Regions from separate parts of the Homo sapiens genome. Here region 1 is linked to region 2. Evidence: promoter capture Hi-C in 16 types of primary human blood cells and fetal thymus (Javierre and others, 2016). All regions are on one chromosome and are shown on one strand. Each heading gives the region's core, a stretch centred on a gene start or on the middle of the fragment in contact. The rest is flanking DNA. Distances are from core to core; before and after follow the strand shown. Region 1 has its middle 2.2 kb from the start of HOXB8. Region 2 holds the start of SP2 (Sp2 transcription factor).

What was found. The method cuts DNA at HindIII sites, captures the fragments that hold promoters and counts their contacts. A CHiCAGO score of 5 or more calls a contact.
Region 1: a contact is called between a fragment that was not itself captured here and the fragment with the promoter of SP2 in region 2, in 4 of 17 cell types (neutrophils, fetal thymus, non-activated CD4 T cells and 1 more). The highest score is 9.7, in neutrophils.

The regions. Positions count from the first base shown.
Region 1 is chr17:48,615,989-48,619,015 of GRCh38, reverse strand. No RefSeq gene overlaps it. Among named protein-coding and RNA genes, the nearest start is that of HOXB8, 2.2 kb to the right of the region's middle. RefSeq lists an enhancer at 983-1,506. The HindIII fragment of the contact is 3,223 bases long and covers 44-3,027 here.
Region 2 is chr17:47,894,472-47,897,626 of GRCh38, reverse strand. SP2 (Sp2 transcription factor) reads right to left here and starts at 1,391. Exons shown (of 7, transcript NM_003110.6): 1 at 1,334-1,391. The coding sequence starts at 1,340. SP2-DT (SP2 divergent transcript) reads left to right here and starts at 1,811. Exons shown (of 3, transcript NR_135480.1): 1 at 1,811-1,924. RefSeq lists silencers at 892-1,321, 2,870-3,155. The HindIII fragment of the contact is 7,029 bases long and covers 1-3,155 here.

The DNA.
Region 1 (3,027 bases), core at 406-2,905, 720 kb before region 2:
ATTAGGGGCAGGGGTGGGAGGTGTACGTAGAAAGAAAAAAGCTTAGGGCTTCTTTTTTTTCCTCCCCTCTGTTGTGTTTTTTTTCTATTTTTTAGCTTATCTACACAATTTCATGAACCGTTTCCTGATTCCGATGCCCACTCCCTATCCCTCCCCTTTTACTGCTAGTTATGAAAGTTTCTCCTGCTGGCCACCTCTGCGGCTGCTCTCCCAGAAAACTGGTGGAGCCGGTGGCTGCGGCGCCTTTTCGCAGAGCAGCCGCTAGATGGCACCCTTGCTCCATGTGAAACTCCCTGGAGCGGCAGCTGCGGATGTCTGCTCCCGGCACCGCGCCTTGGTCGGCCCTGAATCCAGGAACTGAGTGCTACCAAAAGTCATGAATAATTTGTACCTAATAAAAAAAATAGGGCTCGTTATGGCCTTACCCCCATTTTATAGATTTCAGTTATAGTAGTGTTCCCCCATCTCCTCAAATGGTCAATTTTCTGAATTTTCCCCAAGAGGAGGGCTCAGTGATTCTCACCCAGTTGCTGTGTTCGGTGGGGCAACAAATGCGTGAAAACGGGGAATAATAGTAATAATAGGAATAATGGGTCCAAATCCAAAAGGAGAATTGATTCGAAACAACGAGATTTTCCGTGAAAGGAGGCGAAAGGAATGTCCCTGGATGCGGGTCAGCAGGTCAGGTGAGAGGGGCTAGCCGGCAAAAGAAGGTAGGATGGAGAGGAAGCTGCCCATCGGCTGGAGAGAAAATCACGTAAGCCAGCCCGAGACCCCCCAGTTTGTGTGTGTGGGGGAATGGAGCCATAGCTTTTGTGGGGATTCGGAGATGCCCAAAGCCGGCAGGGCGGCTTCGCACGGGCGCAAGCTCTGGAGCCTTTGTATGAGTCCAGGGCTGGGCTGGGCTCGCGCAGGGCGACCTAGGCACGGGGCAGGGGCTCCCCAGGGCAGCAGGGTGCGGGAAGGCTCGGATGTGGTCTCTGGATGCTTTGCGCGCTCCCAAAGAATGCGCGTTTTCCCATGGGCGCGAAGGCGGGCGCGGCGTCAGGACGCAGGAGCTCTGTTCTCCCTGGGTTCCTGGGCTTCCAGGTGAGAGGTGCGGCTTCAGTGCGCCTTGGCCCTGGCCGCAGGCAAACCTGGGGGCGCCGGTCCTTTCCTCATTGAGCAGCTGGAGGTCTGGACTCCGGGCACTTTCGTTCTGAGACCCGCACCCTGGTTGTTCACAGCCCCTTGCATTCCAAATCTCCTGTGTCCTCCCGGCCCCGCCGGATCCCTGCCTTCCATCCGACAAACCTGCGCCAGCAATAGATACTCCCACCCCCTCAAAATCACCCCAGCTGCAGCCTCTCCTCTCCCCCACCAGGACTTAGTGCAAGGAGGTAAGCGGAGTTTCTCCTCAACTTGAGTTTCTCTAATAAATCTGCGCTCCGCTGGGTGTTTATAAATTGTCTCCTCGCTCTTTCGTTTTTTTTTTTTTTTTTTCCTATAACAGAAACATTTTCCTTCCATCAGGAATTTCTGGCACGGTGTAGAGATGATTTAGAACAAGCCATTGAATTTGTACCTCGCCGGTGAGTTTTCAAATAATGACCATAAAATCCTCTGCACTTGATAAAAATGTTTGCTTCGGCAACAATTTAACTCGGCCCTCCGTTGCCTCACGGTCCCCTCAGCCACGCGCTGAAAATTCAAAGCCCTGGTTCTCTCCATTCCTCCTCTTTTCCTTTATCTCTCTCCCGCTTCTAGCCCCTCTCTCATTCTCTAGGTTCACTTTTGAAGAACCAAATGACCTCACTGGTAAGGTTCCCTTTGGAAAAGTGATAGTTTCATTTTTACAAATGTTGGGGTGTATGGGGTCCCCAAAAGGTGCCCGTCAAAAAAACAAACCACTGTTTCCTGAATAAACAATGGATTGAATATATTTGTAAAGCCTCCACTTTTGTTGCTCAAAATTTTCTTTCTGTCTCTCATTCCTCTCCCTTGCCAATCTACTGCTACAGGAGGCTACTGGTTCTGACCCTCAGACTGGGGCCTTCTAAAGCCTGGCCACCACCATCGTGAAGCCGGGTAGGCAGGGAACGCAGTGGCCACAGAGTGTGGCACCCAGTCAGCTTGTTCCAGCTTTCCGTGTTCAGACCTCTGGTTCCCAGGTCTGCAGGGAGAGCCAGGTTTAACTACAGGCTCCCCAAGGCGAAAGGAGAGAAAATGGGAGACTCAGCAACCTTGCTTTATCTGAATTCCACACCCAAGTCAGTTTAGGTGGTGACAGTGGCTCAAAAGGTCTTGGGGACACTGAGGACTAATAGATGCCCTCCCAACACATACTCTGCAGGCACTGCCTAGGGTGGCTGAGAGCATAGGACAGCGGACACGAAGGCCAGGTGCCAGGGCCTGATACCCAACCTTCTTTCCTTTTGATGCAGTGATGGGCTCAGTGGTCCCCTCTCACCCTTAGGCACTGCAGAAGGTGTGGGGGTCGGCCTGGGAAGGTTGGGAGCTATTAATAATTGGGCTTGGCTACTGGGTCCCAAGGCCTGGGTGCAAGTGTCGGGTAGCCCATTGGGGCTTCATCCCTCTGATGGCATCAGGCCCTCTCCCTTCATGCAAAGTCTGCCCTCAAAAGTGCTGATGGGCTGAAGGGCCTTCAGGAGACCCCCTTTTCAGCAAGCAGAGAGTGCACAAACCTGCAGAATCGGCAGTGGCAGCTCGAACTTTGCTCTGTGCTTCAACCACTGCTCATTAACCAGAAAGTTTCTTCTTCCCTCCCGTTCCCTCCTCAAGATCTCCCAGATCCCTGTTTCACAGAAAATTTTTGCTTATTTGTTTAATGAGAGGAAGTTTTGTGACTGGCCAGGGCAGGGCAGAGAGGGCAGGGCAGAGAAGGGACCTTTTGGGGGCTCCAGAGAAGGGGTGGGGGCAGGTGCTTGCCAGGACGGAAGGAGGTGAAAATCTCAGAAAAGTCACCGTTTGTGCCAAAAAAAAATCCCCATAATCATTCTCATTTCGGCTTCGTCACCCCCACCGTGC
Region 2 (3,155 bases), core at 142-2,641:
AATACCAACTCAATACAGCCCTCCACTGTGAAACTGAATGCCTTCTGGGGTACAGCATGAAACCGTTTTAGACAGTGCATGCCAGTGCACCTTGAAACAGTGTCCATCTGTAATGAAATCTGTAAACGGGAAACTTGGGCCAATTCATTGTTTAAAGCAGATCTACTGGCTCATACCTTTCTCTAGGAAACAATAAGTGAACAAGAAGTAACCTCAGAAGAAGAAAGAACTTTGGGAGAATGCACTGAGAAAGGCCAGACTGAGTCCCCTTGGATGAAGTTAATTAAGAAACAAACATGACAGGATATTGCAATCAAAACCAAGGAATGCAGTGAGGACAGGTTTCTCAGTTGCCCAGAGGAGAAAACATAGTTCCTTCTGAACTAAAATTAGAAAGCCGCTGGCAAGGAAACATAAGAAGCATGGATAAGAGGCTGAAAACCGTAAGTCAGCAATGGGGATGGAGGTGGGTACAGGAAGAGAGCGAGTATCTATTTTGTTTTATTTCTTCTGTAATTCCTTAAGATTGTTTGCGCCTGAGCTTTGGGACTGCAGTAGTCTCCCCTACGGGGCGTCAAGTAACAGGCTGGGAGCTCTGGCAAGAAGTTCTCAAACTTCTCACAATTCTGCTAAGAGCTTGCAGATATCTAGCTGGAAGATCAAGGATCCAAGTAAAAACATTAAAGGAAGGTTTTTGCCCACTCCCCGGTGAGAGGTCATCTGCCCAGGGAGTGCTCTCGTGTCCTGACACCATCGCCCGACTGGGGATATATCAGTAACCGGGCTGTCGTCGATGCCGAGCAGTGCCCATCTGGTTGGCAGCGTCCGGGTCTCAAGCGTTCCCTCGCCCCTCTCTGTTCTCCGGGGAGCCCTGAATCGCTGGTGGGCATCTACAGTTAAGAGTGCAGGAAGGCCTCTCAGACACGGGGCGAACACAAGGGCTGTTGGCTGCCTCCTCAGAGCCGACCCAGGCATAGTTCGCCCAGGCGGGAGAGCGGCGTTGAAGTGGGTCGGCACCCGTCCGAGGGGTGCCAGGCCACCCCGGTGCCCGCTCCTCTCGCCGGCCCCCGGAAGCGCCGCCCTCCCGCCCGGCGGGCTCCGAGGGGGCGGGGAGTCGAACGCCCCCTTCCGGGTGCCTCCGCCCGGCTGGCCAGCCCCGCTCCTCCTCCGGGCGGGAATCCTCCCTCCCCCGCCCCTCCTGAAGCCGGGCCCCGACGCCAGACCCAGCCCCAGGGGGGAACCCCCGGCCTCGGCTCCCTCTCCCCGCGGCCTCTGCCCGTCTTCCTGACCCTTGGGGGCCGGGAAGACCCCGCCGGCAGCGGCCGGGACCCACCGCTCATTACGACATCTTCCTCCCTGGCCTCCGCCGCCTCCGCCGCCACCGAGAGCCTGACACCGCCCGCCAAGCAACCGCCAATCCCGGAGCCCGCCACCGCCCGAGCGACGGCAGCCTTCACCAATAAGCGCTTGGAACATTGGGGACCGACAGCACTATTAACCAATCAACCAGAGGCGTCTAGAGCGACGTTGATTTGACCAATAGGTCTGTGCAATGTCACTGATGGACGGTAGAGCGCACCAACCGAAAGCCAATTGAATAATGAGTGACATGTGCATCAGCCAATTGGAGGGAGGCAAAGTCCCGCCCGCTGGGTGGTTGATGTACAGCAACAGGAAGCTGGAAGGGGAGGGGCTTAGCCGAAGAGTGCTTTTGTATTGGTCGAGGTTGACCTTCCACCCACCTCTAACCCAGAGGATGAATGATAGATCTGCCCTGAAGCCAATCAGAAGTCCTTAGGGTGAGGCCCACAAATGCCCCAGAAATAGCATATACATTGCGCCCTAAGTCCAGTCTCGCCCAGGTGTGGCAGGAGCTTTTACCTGCTCTTCGGCAGTAGCCGGCTGCCACTCAACCCCATGCCTGGTGAGTGGAAAGCCATCAACCTTTTATTTAGTCCCTCTCTCGTTGTCGCCTGGGGAGGGGCGACTTTGTACAGTGAGGCACTGGGGTCCGGCACCATAGTGGGAGTTGGGGTTGTTTACGCGACACTTCTAAGGGGATTTTCACAATCGGTTAAGCCCCCGTTAATCCTCACATGGTTATTGCGGCGACCCCCATAGCCCACGGTCCCAAACGTGTGCATCTGAATCATCCGAAGCTCTTTCTAAAGGCAGGCTCCCCTGGCCGCCTCTCCTAATCCGACTCGGTACTTCACGGGGCGTGCCTAGAATCTGCATTTTAGCAAGGGCCTCGCGTGGACAGAATTGCACGCTTGAGTTTGAGAAGTACTGCTTGGCCTCTGCCCCACTTACCCTTACCTTCTTGAGATGAGGTAAAGCACTTGGTAGGCACTAGGCGGGTAGGTTTATCTTTGCTCCCAAGTCTCTTCCGAGAACTTGGGAAGGCTGCCTAGCTTAGTGAGGGAATCCATTCTGGCTTCAGACCAGTCTGGGTTTGAAACCTACACATCCCACTAACTTAGGCAGGGTACCGAAACTCCCTGAGCTTCATGTCCTCATCAGTAAAACGAGGTTAATCACACCTACACCTTAGCGCGATGGCTTAAAAAAAAAAAAAAAAAAAACAAACAAAAAAAAACATAGTCCATCAAGAGAAATACATTTTGCATACAGACCAGTACACTGCTATTTGTATGAGAGTGTCATAAAGTTTCCGAAAACAATGCTTACTACTTGTGACGCACTGATAGTTTCTATGCTTATCCTATCCTATCTTATTCTCCTTCTTGTTGATCATGACTGGCAGTTTGAAAAACACTGCTAGAAAAGGTTGGTGTGATAATACAAAATGCAGAGCAGAATACCGGGTACACAGTAATTGCTGAATAAATGTTAATAGCCTCTTCCAGTCTTCTCCTCTCAGTGTTAGCCTTTGAAAAACAAGACTTTAGACAATAATACTCCTCTAGTAAAGATCCTTCATGGGATCCGTATCTCCTAGATAAAGCCCAAACTCCTTTCTAGGCAAAGTCCTCCCACTCTTTTTTCTTCTTAACCTCAGCATCCACCAGAGGACACACTCTTACTGGTGTATCTTTCATGCTTTATCTCCTCCCTCTACCCCCGTTCCCTTCCTACAAATCCTACCCTTTTCCCTCCAGGAAAGATTCCAGGTTCCTAAACACTTACGCTTT